3 separate regions of the Homo sapiens genome follow, and regions 2 and 3 are each linked to region 1. The links are contacts of gene promoters, found by promoter capture Hi-C in blood cells and fetal thymus (Javierre and others, 2016). All regions are on one chromosome and are shown on one strand. Each heading gives the region's core, a stretch centred on a gene start or on the middle of the fragment in contact. The rest is flanking DNA. Distances are from core to core; before and after follow the strand shown. Region 1 holds the start of BTBD18 (BTB domain containing 18). Region 2 has its middle 3.1 kb from the start of SMTNL1. Region 3 overlaps UBE2L6 (ubiquitin conjugating enzyme E2 L6).

The links. The method cuts DNA at HindIII sites, captures the fragments that hold promoters and counts their contacts. A CHiCAGO score of 5 or more calls a contact.
Region 2: a contact is called between a fragment that was not itself captured here and the fragment with the promoter of BTBD18 in region 1, in 9 of 17 cell types (fetal thymus, naive CD4 T cells, total CD8 T cells and 6 more). The highest score is 10.9, in fetal thymus.
Region 3: a contact is called between a fragment that was not itself captured here and the fragment with the promoter of BTBD18 in region 1, in 1 of 17 cell types (naive CD8 T cells). The highest score is 5.0, in naive CD8 T cells.

Annotation. Positions count from the first base shown.
Region 1 is chr11:57,750,057-57,754,417 of GRCh38, reverse strand. It overlaps BTBD18 (BTB domain containing 18), which reads left to right and starts at 2,599. Exons shown (of 3, transcript NM_001145101.3): 1 at 2,599-2,877; 2 at 3,182-3,353. The coding sequence starts at 3,230. The region is part of intron 2 of TMX2-CTNND1 (TMX2-CTNND1 readthrough (NMD candidate)); the gene reads right to left. The HindIII fragment of the contact is 11,151 bases long and covers 1,817-4,361 here.
Region 2 is chr11:57,532,356-57,536,716 of GRCh38, reverse strand. No RefSeq gene overlaps it. Among named protein-coding and RNA genes, the nearest start is that of SMTNL1, 3.1 kb to the left of the region's middle. The HindIII fragment of the contact is 4,634 bases long and covers 203-4,361 here.
Region 3 is chr11:57,559,663-57,564,023 of GRCh38, reverse strand. It overlaps UBE2L6 (ubiquitin conjugating enzyme E2 L6), which reads left to right. Exons shown (of 4, transcript NM_004223.5): 2 at 3,592-3,687. Among named protein-coding and RNA genes, the nearest start is that of UBE2L6, 5.8 kb to the left of the region's middle. The HindIII fragment of the contact is 4,082 bases long and covers 1,071-4,361 here.

The sequences.
Region 1 (4,361 bases), core at 1,350-3,849:
AACCCTGGCTCTACTAAAAATACAAAACTTAGCTGGGCATGGTGGCATATGCCTGTAATCCCAGCTACTCAGGAGGCTGAGGCAGGAGAATTGCTTGAACCCTGAGGTGGAGGTTGCAGTGAGCCAAGATCACGCCTTGCACTCCAGCGTGGACAAGAAGAGCGGAACTCTGTTTCCAAAAAATAAATAAATAAATAAATAAAAGAAAAACAATTAAATCAGCCAGGCATGGTGGCACTTGCCTATAGCCCCAGCTACTCGGGAGGCTGAGGTGGAAGGATTGCTGGAGCTCCAGAGGTCGAGGCTGCAGTGAGCCGGGATCGCGTCACATCCTGGGCAACATTAATTACCTTTTTTTTTTTTTTCTGAGACTGAGTCTTGCTCTGTCACCCAGGCTGGAGTGCAGTGGCGTCATCTCGGCTCAGTGAAACCTCTGCCTCCCGGGTTCAAACGATTCTCCTGCCTCAGCCTCCCGAGTTGCTGGGATTACAGCACGCGCCACCAGGCCCGGCTAATTTTTTGTATTTTTGTAGAGACGGGGTTTCACCATGTTGGCCAGGCTGGTCTCTAACTCCTGACCTCGTGATCCGCCCCCCTCAGCCTCCCAAAGTCCTGGGATTACAAGCGTGAACCACCGCGCCAGGCCTAATTAACATTTTTTTAAAAAATCATCTCTGTAACGATAATGGAGACCGTTCGCGGGGGCGGGGGGGGGGATTTTCTGCAAAACCCCTGGGTCATTAGTTCTCCAAGATTTGGGGTTGGAGTGGAATCAGTGAAGAAACTGAATTCAGAAACTGCCCAAGGACCTTATTCCATAACATCTCTGGTCTTAGGAGATTTCTAAATTAGCCATATGGGGGACCCGGTGTTACCAGAGCCATCCAGAGACTTCCATCACGAAACATGGAGCGCTCCAGGCAGAGCCAAGGGCATCTACTGCCTCTTCAAAGGGAAGACGGACATGACCCTTAACCGCCTTGGCGCCTGCTCTACTACAGCATCCCTACCCTCTTTTTCGGTGTGTTTTCATCAAGTGCTGAGGCAGACGACGGCTTTCACAAGAATTCCTCCCTGACGGGCCCATCCCCCTGCCTCTTGCAGCCCAGCCATCTTCCCTCAGCCCTCAAGTCCCTCGAGACTTAGCCTCCCGCCCAAAGCGCTCCTCCTGTTCTGATTGGTTCTCCCGGGAGCCTTCGGCCAATGGGGATGACGTATGCCGGACGACGTAGGCCCGAGGACTCGGGAGGAGGAGGGGCGTAGGGCTCTGCGACGCGCAGCGCGCTAGGACGGTGGCACGAGGTGTGTGGCGCTGGCCGCGTGGCCTTACAACCCTCGCTATCACTACCACCCAGTGCATGTGGGTGCTGAAGCCCGCAGGGATACAAGGGCGCCAGGGGCTGCCTGCAAAGTCTATGCTGGCGGAGGTGGCCGTGACGGGAAGTCCTGACTTTGGGCCTCCCGGATCCCCACGGTCCATTCCCAGAAACCCTCGCGCCTAGGAGTCTTTCTTCAAAGGAGTTGGGCCAGGGCGCCCAAGCGTGCGGGCCACCCCGCTTTGCAGGGCTCTCCCTGAAGCCCTGCTTTCTCCGCCAACACCGATTCCCTTGCTTCTGGATGGGGAGGTGAAGCACTCAGCCGTTGGCCCACCTGCGCATCTTTGCTCAGCCTCCTGACTCAACGCTGAACATTGAGAGGAAGCAAGGCAGGCTGGACAGAGGACAAGCACAGAGAAGGCAACAGGAGCAAAGTCTACCGAAAAGCTATTTCAAGTTGGGTCTGGAGGCAAGGCCAGGCGATCGTGGATTGAGAAGCTTCCCCAGGGCCCTTGCAACAGCTGCCATCCTCCATCCACATCTCTCTCACTGGGATGGGAATTTTTTTTTTTTTTTTGAGACGGAGTCTCGCTCTGTCGCCCAGGCTGGAGTGCAGTGGCTCTATCTACAACCTCTGCCTCCCAGGTTCAAGCGATTCTCCCACCTCAGCCTCCTGAGTAGCTGAGATTACAGGCGCCTGCCACCATGCCCGGCTAATTTTCGTATTTTTGTAGAGACGGGGAGTCACCATGTTGGCCAGGCTGGTCTCAAACTCCTAACCTCAGGTGATCCACCCGCCTCGGCCTCCCAAAGTGCTGGGATTACAGGCGTGAGCCACCCCGCCCAGCCAAGCCCGCCTTCTCTTAATTTACCTTTTCATTCTTCTTTCCTGATAGTTTTGACGTGAACTGTTCGGACCCTCAGTGCTACCTGATAGAAAACTGCATTCCAGGAAAGGAACACAGCTGTGCAGTGAGTGGGGGGGTTTCGGAGCTAAAAAGCTGGACATAAGCCTGAAGTCAGAATACTCAGTTTGTTTTGGGAGGGGTAAAATGCTTTACTATCCTTGCTGCATTGTTAGCCTGGTAATTAACTATACAAACGTAAAGGCCAAATTCTTTGCCTACTACCAGGGTCAGTCAGGCTCGCTTTGGTCAAGTACACCCAGCCAAGGGTGGCAACGTCCTTGGTTCTGTGAGAGACCTTCCCGCAGAGTCAGAGGCTTCTCTTCTTTATTGTGCACCCTCTGCTGGTTAGTGTGATACAGTGAGCTCAGAGAAAAGGCGCATACGACTTACTAGAGATAATTTTATACCCAGTAATGTTTCCTTAAAAGTGTTAACTTGAAGATTATACCTGTGGAGCTGGGATGTGGTGCTCAGGAAGAATATAAGTAGTCAGCATTGTAGCAGTTGAGTCTCAGTGGTAATGGAAATGAGGAAGGTTGAAGGATAATAATAGTTACCATTTGGGGCTTGGTAGTTATTTTGTGCCAGGCACTCACTGTGCTAAGCAACTTTACCTTCACTGACTCATTTAATCTTTAAAACAACCCTACAAGGTAAGTACTATTATTCTATTTCATGGATAGGAAAGTGAGACTCAGAGAAGTTAGGTCACCTGTGTGAGATTATACAGCCAGGCTAATAAATAGAGCCAAGACCCAAACCTAGGCTTATCTCTGAGCTCCCACATGTAACCACTATGATAATTTTCTTTCTTGAGATATCCTTGGCACAATTTCTGGGCTGATGTTTCCTCAACTCATACTATTATCTCTCACTTTCAAAATTCCCCTGCCATTTCAAAGACAAAAAACAAATTAGATGTAACCATGCCTCTGAAATGTATTATCTCACCTACAGGAGTCTGATCTGTGAAAACCTAGAAGGTTTGTTAAGACTCTTGCCAACATGTGCTCTCCTGCCAGTCCCAAAATCCTATACAGGAACCCCCGGTTCCTCAGGTTAGCTTTTCTGCAGCTTCATCACCAGCAGCAGAGTGATGTGTTCTGTGATGTCCTTCTGCAGGCAGAAGGTAAGAGAGTGGTCGGAATTCAACTGAAAACTCACCATAGAATAAGATAAAATGAGTTCAGAGCCAGAGGGTAAAGGACAAAATCAGCAAAATATTACTGCCTATGACCACTGTAAACTATTTGGTAAAGGGCTGTTTGTTTCTAGGACAATTACTACTGTTTTCAAGAGTGAAATTGTGACTTTGCTTCTTTCTCTTAAATAATGAATCTAATTGTAAAGTTTTATAAGCAGATACATTCTATATAACATGGATAATATTCCAATGGGATGGTTGTGAAGATTAAGAGTTAATGTGGGTAAGCACTTAGAATAGTGCTTTTAATATACTAACCACAATATGTGTTAGATGATACTATTATGTTTTCTTTTTGAGAGTCTCACTCTCTTGCCCAGGCAGGAGTGTGGTGGCACAATCACAGCTACCTGCAACCTCCACCTCCTGGGTTCAAGTGATTCTCATGCCTTAGCTTTCTCAAGTAGCTGAGATTACAGGCATGCGCCACTACGCCCAGCTAACTTTTGTATTTTTAGTAGAGATGAGGTTTTGCCATGATGGCCAGGCTGGTCTCAAACTCCTGGCCTCAAGTGATCCACCCGCCTGGGCTTGCCAAAGTGCTGGGATTATAGGCGTGAGCCACCACGTCCGACCCTTTTCCCATTTTCTTTTTTGTTGTTGTTTTGTTTTTGAGACAGAGTCTCTCTCTGTCTCCCAGGCTGGAGTGCAATGGCACGGTCTCAGCTCACTGCAACCTCCACCTCCCGCGTTCAAGCGATTCTGCCGCCTCAGCCTCCCGAGTAGCTGGGACTACAGGTGCGTGCCACCACACCCGGAAAATTTTTTGTATTTTTAGTAGAGATGGGGTTTCACTATGTTGGCCAGACTGGTCTCGAACTCCTGACCTCATGATTCACCTGCCTCAGCCTCCCAAAGTGCTGGGATTACAGGCGTGAGCCACGTTGCCCGGCCTGCTTAATTTATTTAATCTTCAAATTGATGACTTTTGTT
Region 2 (4,361 bases), core at 1,270-3,769, 220 kb after region 1:
CCTGTAATCTCAGCTACTTGGGAGGCTGAGGCACGAGAACTGCTTGAACCTGGGAGGCAGAGGTTGCAGCAAGTCACTGCACTCCAGCTTGGGTGACAGAGACTCCATCTCAAAAAAAAGTCTTCACTTTCTCTGTGTGTTTTACAATCTAAGAAAGGCACTACTTTTGGAGAATGGGTGCAGAGGACACTCCCACGAAGCTTGGGATCCCCCCCAGTCCTCCTACCCCAAGCCCCACCACTGGGCCACACTGGCCTCCTTCCTATTCCTTAAATAAATCCATCCCTTTTCAGACTCAGGACTGGTTTTTCCTTCTACTCTTTGTAAGACTGCCTCCCTCTCATTCTTCTGGACTTAGCTGAAATTTCATTCCCTCAGAGAGGTTTTCCATGACCTTCAATTCCTCTCCCTCATTTCAGCAGTTTTTATTGTCCTCATAATACTAAATCTAAAATTACCTTATTCATTTCCTTATTATCTGACTCTCTCACTAGGCTTTAAGCTCCATGAGGGCAGGGATTTTATCTACCATACTCATGGCTGTATGCCTAGATCCCAGCAGAATTGCCTGGCTCATATTAGGTACTTGATAAATACATACTGAATGAAATAACTAATTAATTAACAGAAATATGACAGGAACTTGGAGGTCTTGCCCGGGATGATCTGAAAGAGAGATCTTTCTGTGCATCTAGGTTTGGGTACTAGTCATGAAATAGTCCAATATTAATGGTTGCCAGCCGGCTCTAGTAATACTTGAAACCCGGCTGGGATTATAGGCATGAGCCACCATGCCCAGAGTATTTTGCTCTTTTCAATATCTAATGACAGTAGGATAAGAGAAATGAATTTAAACAAAAAACCAGCAAGCCAGAGAGAGATGTGGAAAAACTCGCCAATCTTGGGCAGATATACTCTGGATGGATGCTGTTTTGAGAATAAAGTGAAGAAGCATGGATAGAAGTGGGGAGAGCAGTCAGGAGACAAACTCAGTGACCCTGGTGCAGGATGGTGGTGGCTTGGACCACAGTATCAGCCATGGAGGTAAGAAGAAGTGATGGGAAACAGTAATAGTGCAGACAGTGATTAAGCCAGGGCCAGCTTTTTCTTCAAGTGAATAGAATGACGTAAGCCATTTCATCACAAGGGAGGTTACAGGAAACCTCTGTTTTTGTATTCTCTGCACCTCTCATGAGTGGTCAGGGCCCACTTGAAGTGATTCTAGATGAAAACTCTGCATCTCTTCTTCTGGGGCTGGGGTCCCACCCAAGAGGACAATACTGACCCACGATGAATGACAAATATACAACTCACCTTTGCAAGGTTGGGAAGGGGTAGAATGCAGGGTAGAATGAGGAGCCAGAGTTTCAGCATGGTGTTGACAGAGATCAGTAGCTTTGGATGACATATCTGGAGTCTAAGGATATCTTCAAAGTCTGAGGCTATCTAAACTGTCTTCTACAAGAAGCAATTCAACTGGGACCATTGGAGATTCCTACCTGTAGGTCTCCACATAGAGGAAAGACACAGTCTCATAGTAAATAATCATAATAACAATAGCATCATCATCAATAAGAGCAATGGTTTTCCAGAGGCTGAGCAGCTGGGGAGATGGAGAGTTGCTGTTCAATGGGTATACAATTTCAGTTATGCAAGATGAATAAGTTCTAGAAATCTGTGTACAATATGGTACATATAGTTAACAATACTATTTTGTGCACTTAAAAATTTGTTGGCCGGGCGCGGTGTATAAAGCACTTTGGGAGGCCAAGGCAGGTGGATCATGAGGTCAGGAGACTGAGACCATCCTGGCCAACATGGTGAAACCCCATCTCTACTAAAAACACAAAAATTAGCTGGGTGTGGTGGCATGCGCCTGTAGTCCCAGCTACTTGGGAGGCTGAGTCAGGAGAATCCCTTGAACCTGGGAGGCAGAGGCTGTAGTGAGCGGAGATCGTGCCACTATCCTCCAGTCTGGTGACAGAGCGAGACTCCGTTTAAAAAAATTTTTTTTGTTAAGCAGGGCCCAGTGCAGTGACTCATGCCTGTAATGCCAGTGCTTTGGGAGGCTGAGGCAGGAGGATCGCTTGAGGCCAGGAGTTTGAAACCAGCCTGGACAACATAGCAAGACCCTATCTCTACAAAAAATTTTAAAAACCACTCAGGCATGGTGGCTTGCGCCTGTAGTCCTAGCTATTCAGGAGGCTGAGATGGGAGGATTGCTTGAGCCCAGGAGTTTAAGCTAACAGTGAGCTATGATTGGGTCTCTGCACTCCAGGCTGAGCGACAGAGACCCTGTCTCAAGGAAAAAATAAATAAATAAAAGGGCTTTATCTGTTAGAGATAAAAATAGATGAAGAAAATATGGACAAATGTTAACAATTCCTAAGTCCTGGTGATGAATATATGGAAGCTCAATGTCCTGTTCTCTCTGCTTTTCTGTATGTTTTAAATATTCCATCTGGGCATGGGGTGGCTCATGCCTGTAATCCCAGCACTTTGAGAGGCCAAGACAGGAGGATTGTTTGAGCCCAGGAGTTTGAAACCAGCCTGGGAAACATGATGAGACCCTATCTCTTAAAAAAAAAAATTAGCCAGGCATGGTGGCTCATGCCTCTAGTTCCAGCTACTTAGGAGGCTGAGGTAAGAGGATTGCTTAAGCCAAGGAGTTCACGATTGCAGTGAGCACTGATCATACCATTGCACTCAAGCCTGGGTGACAAGGCAAGATCCTGCCTCAAAAATCCTAAGTAAAAATAAAAATAAATTTGCCCCAGTGAAAGTTTAAAAATGAAAAAGAATGAAAACAATGATTTATTTTTATTGAGCATCTACCATGGACTAGGTACTTTACTTACACAATCTTTTATATAAATATTTTTCTTTCTTTCTTTATGGCCAGCTCTTACTCATACTTGTATAATCTTATTTGTTTTCTTTTTTGTAGAGATTTTTAAAACTTTTTATTTAGAAATAATTATAGTTTCACAGGAAGTTGCATTAATAGTACAGAGAGGTCCTGTACGCCCTTTACCAACTTCCACTAAAGGTTAAATCTAACATAACTATATTCAATATCAAAGCCAGATAATTTATATTGGTACAATGTGTGTGTGTAGTAGTTCTATGACTTTTTTTTTCTTTCTTTTTTTTTTTTAGACCGAGTCTTGCTCTGTCGCCCAAGCTGGAGTGCAGTGGCACAATCTCGGCTCACTGCAACTTCTGCCTCCCGCCTCCCGGGTTCAAGCGATTCTCCTGTCTCGCCCTCCTGAGTAGCTGGGACTATAGGCGCATGCCACCACACCCGGCTGATTTTTTTTATTTTAGTAGAGACGGGGTTTCACCATGTTAACCAGGATGGTCTCGATCTCCTGACCTCGTGATCCACCCGCCTCGGCCTCCCAAAGTGTTGGGATTACAGGTGTGAGCCACCGCGCCTGGCTTTTTTTTTTTTTTTGAGACGGAGTCTCACTCTGTCGCCTGGGCTGGAGTGCAGTGGCACGATCTCGGCTCACTGCAACCTCCACCTCCCGGGTTCAAACGATTCTCCTGCCTCAGGCTCCTGAGTAGCTGGGGTTACAGGTGCCCGCCACTACCCCCAGCTAATTTTTTGTATTTTTAGTAGAGACGGAGTTTCACCAACAAGGCTGGTCTCGAACTCCTACCTTGTGATTCGCTCGCCTGGGCCTCCCACAGTGCTGGGATTACAGGCGTGAGCCACCGCACCCTGCCAGTTCTATGACATCTTATCACCTGTGTAGATTCTTGTAACCACCACCACAATCAGGATACAGAATTATCCATCAACACAAAGATCTCTCTTGTGCTACCCTTTACAGGTACACTTCTATCTCCCCATCAACCCTAACACTAGACAATCAGAAATCTCTTCTCCATCTCTATAATTTTGTGATTTTGAGAATGTTACTTAAATGAAATCATACAGTATGCAACCTTTCATAAGGCCCAGTAGATATTGCAAGATTCCTCTTGTAAGAAACCATCTCCTTTTCCCACGCAGTTTCTTAACTTTCCATAATGTTTCTTTTTTGCGGGGAGTGGGGGGTCGGAGTTTCACTCTTGTTGCCCAGGCTGGAGTGCAATGGTGCGATCTTGGCTCACTGCAACCTCTGCCTCCCGGGTTCAAGTGTTTCTCCTGCCTTAGCCTCCTGCTTAGCCTCTTGAGTAGCTGGGATTACAAGCACCCGTCACCACACCGGGCTACTTTTTTGTATTTTTAGTAGAGATGGGGTTTCACCAAGTTGGCCAGGCTGGTCTCGAACTCCTGACCTCAGGTGATCCACCCACCTCAGCCTCCCAAAGTGCTGGGATTACAGGCGTGAGCCACTGCACCCGGCCAA
Region 3 (4,361 bases), core at 1,862-4,361, 190 kb after region 1:
AGCCCTGTCTCTCTCCCTACCTCCTATTTAAGGCCAGTAACTCTTAGATTTGCCCTTTTGAGGCCATTGTCTAGATCCTGTAGGCATACTTCATTCTTTGTTTATTCTTTTTTTTTATTTTTGAGACGGAGTCTCGCTCTGTTGCCCAGGATGGAGTGCAGTGGCACAATCTTGGCTCACTGCAAGCTCTGCCTCCTGGGTTCATACCATTCTCCTGCCTCAACCTCCTGAGTAGCTGGGACTACAGGCGCCCACCACCACGCCCGGCTAATTTTTTTTTTTTTTTTTGTATTTTTAGTAGAGATGAGGTTTCACCGTGTTAGCCAGGATGGTCTCGATCTCCTGATCTCGTGATCCACCTGCCTCGGCCTCCCAAAGTCTTTGTTTATTCTTTTATTATTTTGCTTCATCTGACTGTATTTTCAAATACCCTGTCTTTAAACACTCTAGTTCTTCTGCTTGATCAATTCTGCTGTTAAAAGACTGATGCGTTTCAGTATGTTAATTGCATTTTTTTCTTTCTTTCTTTTTTTTTTTTTTTTGAGACAGAGTTCCACTCTTGTTGCCCAGGCTGGAGTGCAATGGCATGCTCTCGGCTCACTGCAACCTCTGCCTCTCCAATTCTCCTGCCTGAGCCTCCCAAGTAGCTGGGATTACAGGCCTGCACCACCATGCCCAGCTAATTTTTGTATTTTTAGTAGAAACAGGGCCTCACCACGTTGGCCAGGCTGGTCTTGCACTCCTAACCTCAGGTGATCTGACTGCCTCGGCCTCCCAAAGTGCTGGGATTACAGGCATGAGCCACTGCACCCGGCCTCAATTGCATTTTTCGACTCCGGAATTTCTCCTTGATTCTTTTTAATTATTTCAATTTATTTGTTAAATTTGTTGATGGGATTCTGAATTCCTTCTCTGTGGAGGAAATATTGAATTTCTTTGAGTTTCCTCAAAACAGCTATTTTGATTTCTCTGTCTGAAAGGTCACATATCTCTGTTTCTCTGGAATTGGCCCTGTGTGCCTTATTTAGTTCGTTTGGTGAGGCTGTGTTTTCCTGGATCGTCTTGAAGCTTGTGGATGTTTGTTGGTGTCTGGGCACTAAGGAGTTAGGTATTTATTATAGTCTTTGTAGTCTGGGCTTGTTTGTACTCATCCTTCTTGGGAAGGCTTTCGAGGTATTGGAAGGGGCTTGGCTGTTGTGATCTAAGTTTTGGTCACTGCAGCCATGTCTACATAAGGGGGCACTCCAAGCCTAGTAACACTGTAGTTCTTGCAGACTTTTAGAGGTTACTACCTTTGTGGTTTTGGATAACATCAGGAAGAATTCTCTGGATTACCAGGTAGAGACTCTCATTTTCTTCCCTTACTTTCTCCCAAACAAATGGAGTCTTACTCTCCGTGCTGAGCTCCCTGGAGCTGGGTGAGGTGTGACACAAGCATCCCCATGGTCACCAGAATTGGGACTGCACTGGGTCAGGCCTGAAGCCAGCACAAGACTGGGTTTTGCTCAAGGCCCGCTGTAATCACTACCTGGCTATGCCCTACGTTCGCTCAAGGCCCTAGGGCTCTGCAATCAGCAGGTGGTGAAGCCAGCCAGGCTTGTGTTCTTCCCCTTAGGGTGGTTAGTTCACTGCTGGGCCCCAGAGAGGTCCACAGTTGCTGTCCATGGGCCAGGGCCTGGAGTCGGAAACCTTAGAAATCTCTCTAGTGCTCTGTGCTACTGCAGCTAAGCTGGCACTGAAACCACAGGACACAGTCCTTCCCACTCTTCCCTCCCTTTTCCCCAGATATAGGAGTCTCTCCCCTTGTCCACCACCACCACGGGTCTATGAGGAGTACTGCCAGGGTACTACTGCTGATGTTCGCCTAAGGCCCAAAGGCCCTTCAGTCAGCTTGTGGTGAATGTGACCAGGCCTGAGACTCACCCTGCAGGGCAGCGGTCTCCCCTCTTGTTCGGCCAGATAATTCTTTGTTAGGATGTTTATCAGCATCTCTGGCCTCTATCCACTCTCCCGATTTATGACAACGGAACAATGTTCCCAGATATTACCGAATGTCCCTGGCTGGGTAAAATCGCCCCTGGTTGAGAACCACTGGTTTGTACCAATTCATTGTTCCAGAGAAATGTGACCTGCCCTTGAGTGTCTTTATCTTCCCCAACAAGAAAAGGCCTGTAGTCCCACAAGATGGACTCTAAAAGAGGGGCAGCATTCCTTTGTCAAATACATTTGAGAAGTACTGCATGCTGTGGGCCCACAGCTTGGTCAATCACCATACACAATAGCATATTAAAGGCTGTGGGAAGTTCTCCAGTGAAGAAACCTCTTTAGCCGAGATTTACCAAATGTACTTGACCTTGGAACCCTTTTCCTGTACTACCTATTAACCTTCTGCAGGACATACTGTACTTATGTTTCCCATCTGGGCCCTCTGCCCTGGTGCTTCTCCCCTTCTCTGCTTTATGGATTCCTGTTCATTCTGCATGGCCCAGCTCACAGAGTGCACCCTCTGTGAAACCTTCCTTCTCCCCTCTCATCTCCTTCCTTACCGTATATCCATACACATTCACATAATCACATCCATGTTTCGTCCATTACTCTATTGAAATTCTTGAGGACTGGGTCCTGTCTCAGTTAAATGTCAGTAGAAGATGCTCAGTAATGGCTGTTGGGAGAATTCAGAAGGGATATTCAGGTGTTTGGGCCACAGTTTTGGGAAGATGAGTCACTCCTTGCCCCCTTGTTTCCCCACTTGGTGTGTAGAGTTCTTCTCTGCTATGGTCTTCCGGAGTCATTTCCCTTCTCCAGCCCTGATCTGGCAGAGTTTGAAGCGGTGGGGTCATGTCTTTGCTGCAGATGCTCAGTCGATGCTTACGGAAGGAAGAAAGGAAGAGAGGAAGGGAATTAGAACCTAGTGACTTTCTAGGAAGAAGGCTAGAGAGCAGAGGTTAAGTACCCTGCTTTCAGGAGAAAAGCCTCCTAAGAGCACTTACTCCCAAGTTTTAATATCTGGGAGAAGTGATCTATTTTTCCCTGCACCTAGTACCTAGGTGTACCAGAGTTGTGGTGAGGCCACAGTCAGAAAATTCACTTAAAGCACCAGCACCGGCTGGGCGCGGTAGCTCACGTCTGTAATCCCAGCACTTTGGGAGGCTGAGGCGGGCGGATCACGAGGTCAGGAGATCAAGACCATCCTGGATAACACGGTGAAACCCCGTCTCTACTAAAAATACAAAAAATTAGCGGGGCGTGGTGGCGGGCGTCTGTAGTCCCAGCTACTCGGGAGGCTGAGGCAGGAGAATGGCGTGAACCCAGGAGGCGGAGCTTGCAGGGAGCCGAGATTGCGCCACTGCATTCCAGCCTGGGCAACAGAGCGAGACTCTGTCTCAAAAAAAAAAAAAAAGAAAAAAGAAAAAGCACCAGCACCATGCCTGATACATACTAAGTGCTCAGTAAATGTAGGCTCTGACTTTACCGGCTTCTGCCCCTAAGATGGCCAGTTTTGAACTTGGGGCAGCTTGCTGCTGGGGCAGGGGGAGGGGGCTGAAATAAGGAGGACTAGGCCAACTGCCCACTCACTTGTGTCCCCTGCAGGAGCTGGAGGATCTTCAGAAGAAGCCTCCCCCATACCTGCGGAACCTGTCCAGCGATGATGCCAATGTCCTGGTGTGGCACGCTCTCCTCCTACCCGTGAGTATCCATGGGGACCATGGCTTTGGATTGGGGCCAAATTAGGCCAGGGACATGGGCAGGGAGGGTTAGGACTAGGCAAGAATTTTCCCTGCTTGAGATCCTTTTACTGGAGGTTATCATTGCTGGAGGGGGCTTCTCTCTGAATTGATTGCTTCTGAGATCCAGATACTTCTGAGGTTCACCTTCTGATAAAGATGCCAAAGGACTTTTGACTTAGTAGGAGACCCCTTCCTTAAACCGGTAGCCACCAAGCCCACCACAGAACTTCAGGAGACAAACAGCATCAAAAAGAAGAAGAAATAAAGATTTCTTGGACCTTTGTCAAGGGGTAGGGATAAACTTCCAGGCTCTCACAGTTGGGAGAATTTGCTCCCGCAAACCTAAATTGTATTTTGTTTTTCTGTAGTCTTATTTCAGAAAATTGTTACATATGAAAACACAAATAGCTCATTTCTACTGTTCTTATTTTTCTCTGTTTATTATTTGGTATTTTCTTGATAAAGTCTCTCTGAAAGCAGTATTCCAAAATAGTTTTCAGAGTGCAAGATCTCTCTTTTTTTCATCCGATTATTAGTGACTAAAGATACTTTGAGAAATTAATCTACACTTTTCATTACTTGGAAATAAAATTTAAGACATTGAACTTTTTGTTAGTCAAAGCTCTTTGGAAT